2 separate regions of the Homo sapiens genome follow, and region 2 is linked to region 1. The links are contacts of gene promoters, found by promoter capture Hi-C in blood cells and fetal thymus (Javierre and others, 2016). All regions are on one chromosome and are shown on one strand. The core of a region is centred on a gene start or on the middle of the fragment in contact, and the rest is flanking DNA. Distances in the headings are between cores, read along the strand shown.

Region 1 (6,078 bases), core at 2,577-5,076:
GGGCAAAGGAGGGCTCAAAATGGATTTTTAAATTTTTCTTTTCATCTTAATTATTTAAACAGTTTTTTTTTTTGTTCTTGTTTTTTGAGACAGGGTTTCACTTTGTCACCCCGGCTGGAGTGCAGTCAGTGACATGATCTCAGCTCACTGCAGCCCCTGCCTCTGAGGCACAAGTGATCCTTCTGCACATATCACCACTCCCGACTAATTTTTGTATTTTTAGTAGAGATGGGGTTTCGCCATGTTGCCCAGGCTGGTCTCGAACTCCTAAACTCAAACGATCCAACGACCTTGGCCTCCCAAAGTGATGGGATTACAGTCATGAGCCACTGCACCTGGCTAAAATGGATTTTTTTTAAATACATGAAAATGATTTAATAGACTCGAGTGGGTATGGGGTGTTGAGAGTTGGGAGAGGTAGAATCCAGGACTCACCACACAGTCTGCATTCTGCGTCAGCCTCTTGAGTGTGAGGAGTGAATTGTAAGGCTGGACCACCACATCGCTCATCTCGTCCTGGTTGGGAAACACTGAGTATGTCTGCACCAGCTTCTTAGGATACCTGGTGGGGGTTGGGGAAAGGATCAGGGCAACAGACCGAAGGCCTGGTGAACATGGCGCTCCCTAACAACTGTCCAGAAGCAGATAAATCTTGATGGCGAAACTGGGGTGGGGTCAAATCAGTAGAGAAGGGAGCCTTGACTTTTGGAAGTCTGTAGCCCTACAGGGGGAAGGGCAGAGACATCTTAGACTCTGGGCTTCCAAATTGAGACCTGGCCACACTCCCTCGACTTTCATCCAGGGCTCAGGTTCTAGGCTCCAGTTCCCACTACTGGGAGTGTGATGGGGTTCTCAGTCATTGTAACTTCATTTTCCTCTCTATAGGAGGGAATATAAGAACTCTTTCCTGTTCCAGCAAATATGGAGTTATATCTGCTGGGTCCCCTAGTCATTTAGGAAGCCAAGTTGGAGACCTTTCCTAATCCCCAAACACAAACTTACCTGTCATTCAGCCGTTCTAAGAGGTAGGAACCCAGTCCAGAGCCTGTCCCCCCAGCAATGGAGTGACACAGCACAAAGCCCTGCATGGGGAAGGGGCAGTCAGTGTACAGGTATCTAGTGGCAGGATGTCAAACTAGACCCATCTCATAGTTTTTTAGGACTCCCATTTTCCCGAGCCCTTGCTTCCCATCCAGTCCCCTCACTTATACAGCTTAGGCAACTGCCTTGTTTCTGGCAAGGCCTGATAGCTTCTGTCCAGTGCAAAGGGTACATGAGTGGGTCTTGTTCCTAACAGGTCGCTTCTAGAGGGTGCTGCCAAGCCTTGCCCATGTCGGCTCCTACCAGCATTCCTGGGACACTTACCTCTAGACTGTCACTACCATCTGCCTCCCGGTCTATGATGTCAAAAATGTCCTCATGGATCTTTTCTCCCTGTACAGACATAGGGGAGGGTCAGAGTGGGACAGAACCATGGGAGGTCTCTGACCTCAGAAAAGCCACCCTCAATTCTCCTTATAACACCCAGAAGTCCTTTTATGGAGCATAGCTACCTGCTTTTATCTACATTGAGAGGCAGTACGGTGCAGTGGTTACAAGAAAGCACTCTACACCCAGACTACCTGGGTTCATACATTAGCTCTATTTTTTTTTGCGATGGAGTCTCTCTCTTTCTCCCAGGCTGGAGTGCAGTGGCGCGATCTTGGCTCATGGCAACCTCCGTCTCCTGGGTTCAAGCGATTCTCCTGCCTCAGCCTCCCCAGTAGCTGGGATTATAGGCGCATGCCACCATGCCCAGCTATTTTTTGTATTTTTAGTAGAATCAGAGTTTCACCATGTTGGCTAGGCTGGTCTTGAACTCCTGACCTCAGGTGATCTGCCTGCCTTGGCCTCCCAAAGTGCTAGGATTACAGGCGTGAGCCACCACGCCTGGCCCATTAACTCTACTTCTATGTAGCTCTGGGCAGCTTATTTAATTGCTCTATGCCTCAGTTTCCTCATCTGTACAATGAAGGTAATAATACAGGTCCATATACCCTTATCTAACAGTGTTGGGGCCAGTTATGTTTTGGAATTCAAAATATTTCAGATTTTAGAAAGGTATTATGGTATATATACTATATATTAAATAAAATTCCAGTGGGAATTTTTATTTAATCAGAAGCACGTTAATCAAATATATTAGTATTTCTGTAATAAAAGGCATCACTAATGACAGTAAGTTGGATAGAAACTATAGGGCCGGGCATGGCGGTTCACGCCTGCAATCCCAGCACTTTGGGAGGCCGAGGCAGGTGGATCACGAGGTCAGGAGATCAAGACCACCCTGGCTAACACAGTAAAACCCCGTCTCTACTAAAAATACAAAAATTAGCCAGGCGTGATGGCAAGCACCTGTAATCCCAGCTACTCGGGAGGCTGAGGCAGGAGAATCGCTTGAACCCGGGCAGCAGAGGTTGCAGTGAGCTGAGAGCGTGCCACTGCACTCCAGCCTGGGCGACAGAGTGAGACTCCGTCTCAAAAAAAATAAATAAATAAAAATTAAAAAAAAGAAACTATAAAACAGCCTGTCTTCATTGAAATTTGTTTTTGCTGATAAACTAGTTATGAAATGTCCTTTGGTTTCATGGCTTTCTGGATCCTGGAAAGGCAGATAAGGGACTGTGGACCTGTAGTACTTACTTCTAGGGTTGTTGGGAGATTTAGAAAAATTAATATATGTAAAGCACTTAGAATGACCTGGCACACTGCATTAGCTAGTGTAGGCGCTTGACAATATTACATAGTCCACTCCCTGCAGCCAGGTCTCTCCCTCCAGCATTCATACATCCCTGATCCGGTTTTCCCTCTCTTCGGGACGTCATAGAGCCTGTCCCTACCCAGCGAGTTGTGGGCCCTGCCAGGGAATAGGAAACGACCTGGGAGAATCCGCTGGCCCAGTTGTTGCCAGCTCCTCCTCCATGTTCCGACAGGTAGATGTTCTCTGGGTTGTAGAGCTTGGCATAGGGGGAGTTGAGGATGGAGTGGATCACCCGGGGTTCCAAGTCCAGCAGCACGGCCCGGGGGATGTAGTGCTCATCGTCTGCCTGTCAAGGGGAGTCCAGGAGGGGGCCCAATCAGCTAGGGCGGCCCAAGTCCGAAGTCCTCCCAACTCTGGCTCCCTCCGGCCCTCCCTCCTCAAGCCAGCCGCCTGGCCCTACTGCCCAGCGGGGTTCCCAGTACCAGGCCACTCCCTTCCCTTCCGCCCCCTTGGGCAACTGCCGCCCCCGGCCAAGTCGCTGGGGGCACCTGGTAGAAAAAGACGTCCTTGCGGTCAGTGCCCTCGGTGGCGAACTCCTCCACGATGCCCTCGGGGCTGATACCATGCTCGGCGCACAGCTGTTTCCAGAACTCGAACCCAACTGGGGGGAAGGGGCGGGCAGGGGAGAAAGAAGATATCTAGGTCCGGGCAGGTTCCAATCAGGAGCCGGGGGACTGGGCGCCTGCGTCCAGGGATAAGAAGTCAAGCCGCAGGACTCTCCCGTGTCTGAGGAAAGGACTGTACGCCAGGGACTGGGCAGGGGAGGGCCCCTCGGGGTTGGGCAAGTGGACACTGGGTCAGGGATGTCTCGCCTTTCAGAGAACTACGATTCTGGCAAGGACAGATGGAGTCCAGGATCCCACAGCGAGATCCCATTGACCCTAAGGAACCTGGCTAGCTGAGGGGCCGGAGTTTCGCTCACTCTGATTGCCGCACTGGCCCAACTGTAGGGTGATGATTTCCCTCGGCATCGCTCCTCAGGCACCGGCGTTGCAGCCGCTCCCGCCCGCAACGGCGCCGCACGCCAGCCCGCTCGCCGCAAGACGCAGGCGCCAAACAACCAGCTCCACCCACGAACTTCCTCCGCTCCAATGAGAATCGAGTTCTGGCAATGAATGGCACGTCTTTAAGCACTGGCCTTCGTTCATGCAGATTGCGCGTGCGCGGCTCCGGATGCGGCTCGGCGCCTCCGGATCCGGCTCCGCGCCTCAGTGAGGGCGGGGTACGGCGTCCTCCCTCCCCTCTGGGTGGGCGCCTGCTTGGGCCTGCGCGCAAGCGCGCTGTGGTGCGAAGCCACCTCCCCCGCCGAATCGCGCATCTGCGCAGTTGCTGTTATTGTGACTTGTCGGGCCACGGCCCCGGATGTTGTGGCTGCCGCGGGGAGATGGCTGAGGCCGAAGGGGTTCCCACGACCCCAGGCCCGGCTTCGGGGTCGACTTTCAGGGGCCGCCGAGATGTGTCAGGCTCCTGGGAGCGGGACCAGCAGGTTGAGGCGGCGCAGCGGGCCCTGGTGGAGGTGCTGGGGCCTTACGAGCCTCTGCTGAGTCGGGTGCAGGCAGCCCTGGTGTGGGAGCGGCCAGCTAGGAGCGCTCTGTGGTGCCTGGGGCTGAACGCGGCTTTCTGGTGAGAGAACTGGACCCTCGGAAACCCTCCGAGTCCCGAATTCGTTGGTTCCTCTAGGGCTCTACTTCTCGCCTGCCCTGTTTTCTTCGCTGCACTGGCTCCTTCCTGTACTTGCCTAATTTTGCCTCACCTCCTTCCACTCCATCCCGCCTGCAGGCTTCGGCACCCTAGTTCTTCCCAGGGCCGTCCACCCATCTTCTCTGCCTTACCTGTGCCCGCACCCCCGCCCCGCACATCTGGCGGGAGCTTCTGGTAACATCTTGAGCCGCTCAAGAGTGAGCGAGGGCTCCTCTTTTGAGCCCGACAAAGCTGCGTCCCTTTAAAGCCATCACTTCCTTTCTCTTGTCTGCTCAAGTGCAAGTTCTAGATTGTTTCCAGAGGTTTTAGTAGTTTATTGTTGGAGTAGAGGCGTGAAGTCTTGCAAAGGTATCCATAGGTGTGATTATAAAACAAGCTTGAGCGATTCGCATGAATTAGCATGTTATATATCTAGGAAGGAAGTTTATGAAGTCTAAGCGTCAGTGTGAGCCCCCAAAGCTGAAAATTGAAAGAAAATTACAAGCTTTTAAAGAACAGTTAGGAAATGATGACGGAGATTACACGCGTGTCAAAGCCACCTGTGATTGTAACTCCTCCCTGTTCCAAGGAATTAGAGAGGCATCCTTAGCCATGGTTTATAGGCAAGGAAATTGATGTCTAATACTGTGTGTGAGTTTTCCTGAGCTGGAAAAGTAGCACTGTAAATATGCTTTATTTGTGTGTGTCATGCTCTGTGAAAATGGAACTGCTGCTTCTCTCAGTTGTCATCACCTGAAGTGGACCTAGGACTTCATAGGATCTACCAACCATAATTTTGGATTTATTTGTAATGGAGGAGGTTCCAAGGGAACTGACTTATAGGGGGCTTTCTGCTGCTGAATGGATTAAGACTATTCTGGATAAGCCTGAAACAACAAAATATGTGTGTTTTTTAATTGTGTTTTTGCTAAAAATAGCTTTCCCCTTAAAATTTGTTTTAAAATCAAAACATTTATTATCCTTTATCTGAAAGATTTTCAGTGAGCTGAAGCAGAACAAATAATTCCAAGTTCATTGACCCGAAAACAGTGTTCAGCTATTAAGCTAATCCTCTCCCAGTTTGAAAGAGACCCAGTTAAAGGTGTCACAGTAGTCTCTGGCATTTGTGGCTTCCAGAGCCTTTAGCAAACTCGATGGTAAACTTTTCCTACCACGTTCTTCATTTATTTTTGGTAGTGCTTTTTCCCTTTTTTTTTTTTTTAAGACAGAGTTTCACTCTTATTGCCCAGGCTGGAGTGCAATGGCGTGATCTCGGCTCACTGCAACCTCCGCCTCCCAGATTCAAGCATTTCTCCTGCCTCAGCCCCCCAAGTAGCTGGGATTACAGGCATGAACCACCACAACCGGCTAATTTTGTATTTTTTTAGTAGAGATGGGGTTTCTCCATGTTGGTCAGGCTGGTCTCGAACTCCCGAGGTCAGGTGATCTGCCTGCCTCGGCCTCCCAAAGTGCTGGGATTACAGGCGTGAGCCACTGCGCCTGGCCTTTTTTTTTTTTTTTTTTTTTTTGAGACAAGGTCTTGCTCTATCACCCAGGCTGGAGTGCAGTGGTATGATCTCGGCTCATTGCAACTTCCA
Region 2 (5,941 bases), core at 3,442-5,941, 320 kb before region 1:
ACCACCACGCCCAGCTAATTTTTTGTATTTTTAGTAGATATGGGGTTTCCCCATGTTGGCCAGGCTGGTCTCGAACTCCTGACCTCAGGTGATCCTCCTGCCTCAGCCTTCCAAAGTGTTGGGATTACAGGCTAGGCCACTGCACCTAGCCCATTAACAGCATTTCTTCTGCTAACCTCCCACTCTCGTGCACCCATCAAAAGGAAATGAGACTTCTTAGTGGGTGGCTGATTCTGTGTCTTGGAACAAGGAAAATTTGGAATGGGCCTAGAACACAAGGATTTTAGGCCAGCAATGGTAGAAGGATAAGGAAGCCACTGTCCAAATTGCAACAATTTGACATCAAAAAAGGAACATAGTAATTATGTTTATTTATAATTGACAATTATGATTAAAATAAGTTCAGTGTGTGAAAGACCTCAAAATAAAAAAAAGTTGATATATGATTTTCTGATATATGACATATGATTTTTCTCTGCTTTTATGATATTTGAAGCATCATAAAGGGGACGCGGAGCTGGAGTGTCACAGGGGCTGAGGCAATGTAATTGGTTAAGCCACCAGTAGGGTGTGTGATCACCAACAAAAAGAAAAAGTCCTACACTGAAAGCCCATGGGGTTGAAGCAGGATTTGGTTCACGCTAGAACTTCTGAGAGTCAGTGTGTATCTTGATAAACAGCAACAGAGCTTAGTCATGAGTTCCCTGTAACTGGCTGCTCAGAGAGTTTGCTCCCCACCTCCTGGGGAGAACTTACCTGGGAAGAGGCCAATGTTTCTATCTAAGCCTGTCCCGTCCTCTGAGTTTCCAACCTTCTAATTTCACGTTGGGAGTGCCTCCGAACATGTTTTTGCTGAGTCATTTGTGGAGCTCTAGAATTGTTGAACCTATCATTTGTTTTCCAAGTTAGGGGCAAACAGTAATATATTGCTCATTTATTATTCAACCAAGATATCTGGAGTCCTCCTCATGTGTTAGGCCAGGGCTAGGCACAGGGTTTAAGTGCAAGAGTGAGCAAAGCAGGCATGGAGCTGCACTCATGGGGCCTAGTCTAGTGGGGAAGACGGACATGATCCAAATAATCACAAAGTGACGTTTGGTAGAGAGCAAAGTAAAAGGGGTGCTTTGGCAGGCCCAGAAGAGGAACTTGATCATGACTCATGGTGGGTGGGCAGGGAGGCTTCCTTGAGAAAGTGATACCAATGTGGAGGACTGAATTATGTGAAGAGGCAGAAGAGTGTTCTAAGAAGGGGGGTGTGTAAAAGCCCAAGCTCGGAGGAGGGCTGGAGTGTGTTGCATTGGAGGAACCAAGATGACATTGGCTGTGCTTTGTGGAATGAGGTGAAGGAGACCAGGTGAGGTGCGGTAGACAAGGTCCAGCTGAGGTAAGCTTTCAGAGGCCATATAAAGATTTTTTTTTTTTTGGTAAGAGCATTATTGAGATATAATTCACACACCACAAAATTCACACATTTAAAATGCACAATTTGGTAGCCAGTTGAGGTAGCTCATGCCTGTAATCCCAGCACTTTGGGAAGCAGAGACAGGTGGATCACTTGAGGCCAGGAGTTCAAGACCAGCCTGGCCAACATACTGAAACCCCGTCTCTACTAAAAATACAATTAGTTGGGTATGGTGGCACATGCCTGTAATCCCAGCTACTTGGGAGGCTGAGGCAGGAGAATCACTTGAATCCAGGAGGTGGAGGTTGCAGTGAGCTGAGATTGCGCCACTGCACTCCAGTCTGGGGCAACAGAGAGAGACTCCATCTCAAAAAGAAAAAAAAAAGAAAAGAAAAGAAAAGAAATGCTGTGGCTGGGGTGCGGTGGCTCACACCTGTAATCCCAGCACTTTGGGAGGCCAAGGTGGGTGGATCACTTGAAGTCAGGAGTTTGAGACCAGCCTGGCCAACATTGTGAAACGCCATCTCTACTAAAAATATAAAAATTAGCCTGGTGTGGTGGTGGGTGCCTGTAATCCCAGCTACTCGGGAGGCTGAGGCAGGAGAATTGATTGAACCTGGGAGGCGGAAGTTGCAGTGACCTGAGATCACACCATTGCACTCCAGCCTGGGGGATGAGAGCAAAACTCTGTCTCAAAAAAATAAAATAAAATAAATAAATAATGTACAATTCAGCCGGGCATGGTGGCTCATGCCTATAATCCCAGCACTTTGGGAAGCCAAGGTGGGAGGATTGCTTGAGGCCAGGAGTTTGAGATCAGCCTGAGCAACACAGTGCAACTTCATCTCTATGAAAAATTAAAAAGTTACCCAGGCATTGTGGTATCTACCTGTATTCCCAACTACTCTGGAGGCTAAGTTGGGAGGATCTCTTGAGCCCAGGAGGTTGAGGCTGCAGTGAGCTATGACCATGCCACCGTGCTCCAGCCTGGGTAATAGAGTGAGACTCTCTCAAAAAAAAAAAAAAAAAAGAAAGAAATTAAAAAAAGAAAAAAATACAATTCATTGGTTTTTAGTATATTCACAGAGTTGTACATAACCACAGTCAATTTGAGAACATTTTCGTCACCCTAAAAAAAAAACCCTGCAGCCTTCAGCAGTCACTCTCCATTTCCCCCAAACATCTAGCCTTAGGCAACCACCAATCTACTTTCTGTCTCTATGGATTTGCCGATTCTGGACATTTCTATAAATGGAATTATATGGTATGTGATCTTTTGTGCCTTGCTTCTTTCACTTAGTATAATGTTTTCAAGGTTCATCCACACTCTAGCATGTATTCATACTTCATTCCTTCCATGGCCAAATAATATTGCACTCTATGGCTAGGCTATATTTTGTTTATTTATCATTAGTTGATGGACATTCAGGTTGTTTCTGCTTTTTAGCTATTATGAATAATCCTGCTCTGAATATTCATGTACAAGTTTTTTTCCTTTTTAAAATTTATGTATGTATTAATTTAAAAATGGAGAGATGGGTAGAAAATAAAAGATGAAGGAAAAAGATACAAAAAGAAGTGAGACCAGACAGGGTGGCTCACTCCTGTAATCTCAGTACTTTGGGAGGCCGAGGCGGGTGTATTACTTAAGGTCAGGAGTTCAAGACCAGCCTGACCAACATGGTGAAACCCAGTCTCTACTAAAAACATAAAAATTAGCCATATGTGGTGGTGTGTGCTTGTAATCCCAGCTACTCGGGAGGCTGAGGTAGAAGAATTGCTTGAACCTGGGAGGTGGAGGTTTCAGTGAGCTGAGATTAAGCCACTGCATTCTAGCCTGGGCAACAGAGCAAGACTCCGTCTTAAAAAAAAAAAAAAAAAGCAGAAATGAAAAAACACACAAAAAAGCAAAAAATAAAGACGGGGGTCTCACTACGTTGCTCAGGCTGGTCTTATATTCCTGGACTCAAGCAATCCTATCTCTTCGGCCTTCCAAAGTGCTGGAATTACAGGCATGAGCCACGGCGCCTGGCCAAGTTTTTCATAATAAAGATTTATATCCTAAGAACAGTGATAATCCATTAAAAAGTTTCAAGCAAGAGTGTGATATCAGATTTTGGGTTTAAAAAGATCACTCCATCAGTCTTCTGGTGAATGGATATGAAAAGGGCGAGAGTGAATGCAGGGAACATTTACGAAGCCCATTGCAGCTGGACTCGTTGGTTCACACCTGTAATCCCAGAACTTTGGGAGGCCGAGGCAGGTAGATCACCTGTGGTCAGAAGTTCTAGGCCAGCCTGGCCAACATGGTGAAACCCCGTCTCTACTAAACATATAAAAATTAGCTGGGCGTGGTGACATGGGCCTGTAATCCTAGCTACTTGGGAGGCTGAGGCAGGAGAATGACTTGAACCTGGGAGGCGGAGGTTGCAGTGAGCCAAGATCAGCCTGGGCAACAAGGTGAAACTCCGTCTCAAAAAAAAAAAAAGAAAAAAAGAAGGCCATTGCAGGCCATTGCCATTGATGGTGGTGACTTTTATCTGGGGTAGGCAGCAGTAGAAATGGCAAGAAATGGCAGATTTTAGAGATATTTAAGGGGTAAAAGTAAGAGGATTTGATGGATGGAGGATGGATGGGAAGGAGGAAGATAGCGTGTGGATGGATGGACTTACCATTCACTGAGATACAGAATTGTAGAGATGACCAGGTTTGGGGTAAAATATTAAGAACCTAAACTGGGTGTGGTGGCTCACACCTGTAATCCTAGCACTTTGAGAGGCTGAGGCAGGAGGATCATTTGAGTCTAGGTGTTCAAGACCAGCCTGGGCAACATAGAGAGCCCTTGTCTTTACAAAAAAAAAAAATTTTTTTTTGTTTGAAAAGGAGTTTCACTCTTGTTACCCAGGTTGGAGTGCAGTGGCGCAATCTCAGCTCACTGCAATCTCTGCCTCCCAGGTTCAAGTGATTCTCCTGCCTCAGCCTCCCAAGTAGCTGGGATTACAGGCATGCACCACCACATTTGGCTAATTTTTTGTACTTAGTAGAGACAGGGTTTCACCATGTTGGCCAGACGGATCTTGAACTCCTGACCTCAGGTGATCCATCTGCCTCGGCCTCCCAAAGTGCTGAGATTACAGGCGTGAGCCTCCGCGCTCGGCCTATACTAGCTATTTTAATTCCAGAAATGTCTGGAATATAGCAGATGCTTGATAAATACTTGTGAAATGAACGAATTGTTCCAGCTGAAAAATTATTAAATTAAAAGATGGACCCTGCTTACATAAGTGGTAATCATAAGGGATTTTATGAACAAATAATTTGAAACCTTTAGAGTTAAAAATTTCTTATTACAGTAATAAAGATGTTAACTTTAAGTTGACAGTAATCTAAGTGTTCTGTTAATTGAATGATCAACTTGTTGGCTGTCAGAGAAGGAAGGAAACGAGTAGATTGGCACTAAGACATTCAAAGCCCCAGCAGGAAGCTGAGGCTCAGCAGAGCCAAGGAGTCAAGGGTCTTCCGGAATGTTCCCCTGCAGGGATGGGCCACAGCTTGGGGGTATGGACGAGCGGCAGGCAGGGCAGGTGAGCCTCAGCGAGCAAGGAGGTCTTTGAACCCAGAGTGCAAGATATTGAAACAGAAAATAATTAATTTGCCTCAGTTTATTTTTAATTTTTTGTTTTTCTTAAACTGAGTGTTGTTTTTTTTTTTGAAACTGAGGTTCATTTATAAAAGAACACATGTTGTTGTAGCTATGTAAGAAAATGTCCTTGCTTTTGGGAGACACATGAAATTATTTAGAAGTGAAGGCCATGGTGACTGTAAATTTTGCTGAAACGAATGATCAAAAACGAAGAATATGTACACATATATAGCGAGAGATTGATAGAGCAATGTGGCAACATGTGAATACTGTAGTTGGTGATTTACATGAAGAATATACAGAAATTCATTGCTTTTTTTTTTTTTTTTTTTTTTTTTTTGAGACGGAGTCTCGCTCTGTCGCCCAGGCTGGAGTGCAGTGGCGCAATCTGGGCTCACGGCAAGCTCCGCCTCCCGGGTTCATGCCATTCTCCTGCCTCAGCCTCCTGAGCAGTTGGGACTACAGGCGCCCGCCACCATGCCCAGCTAATTTTTTGTATTTTTAGTAGAGACAGGGTTTCACCGTGTTAGCCAGGATGGTCTCGATCTCCTGACCTCGTGATCTGCCCGCCTCGGCCTCCCAAAGTGCTGGGATTACAGGCGTGAGCCACCGTGCGCAGCGCTTTTTTTTTTTTTTTTTTTTGAGACAGTGTCTTGCTGTGTTGTCCAGACTGGACACTCAGTGGGACAATCTCGGCTCACTACAACCTCTGCCTCCCTGGTTCAAATGATTCTCCTGCCTCAGCCTCCCGAGTAGCTGGGATTACAGGCGTGCACCACCAAGCCTGGCTAATTTTTTTGTATTTTAAGTAGAGATGGGTTTTACTATGTTGCCCAGGCTGATTGCGAACCATTGCATTTTTAAAATTGATTTTTTTCAAAACAGAGTAGAAGGCC

What was found. Contacts are between HindIII fragments. The CHiCAGO score rates a contact against its expected background, and 5 or more counts as called.
Region 2: a fragment that was not itself captured here is called in contact with the fragment with the promoter of TUBG1 in region 1 in 1 of 17 cell types (megakaryocytes); the score reaches 5.2 in megakaryocytes.

Annotation. Positions count from the first base shown.
Region 1 is chr17:42,607,431-42,613,508 of GRCh38, reverse strand. It overlaps TUBG1 (tubulin gamma 1), which reads right to left and starts at 3,826. Exons shown (of 11, transcript NM_001070.5): 1 at 3,723-3,826; 2 at 3,289-3,401; 3 at 2,919-3,086; 4 at 1,366-1,434; 5 at 1,003-1,082; 6 at 436-562. The coding sequence starts at 3,771. RETREG3 (reticulophagy regulator family member 3) reads left to right here and starts at 4,135. Exons shown (of 9, transcript NM_178126.4): 1 at 4,135-4,423. The coding sequence starts at 4,185. RefSeq lists an enhancer at 4,144-4,253. The HindIII fragment of the contact is 4,939 bases long and covers 1-4,879 here.
Region 2 is chr17:42,924,060-42,930,000 of GRCh38, reverse strand. No RefSeq gene overlaps it. Among named protein-coding and RNA genes, the nearest start is that of G6PC1, 26 kb to the right of the region's middle. RefSeq lists enhancers at 937-1,086, 976-1,552. The HindIII fragment of the contact is 6,600 bases long and covers 1,392-5,941 here.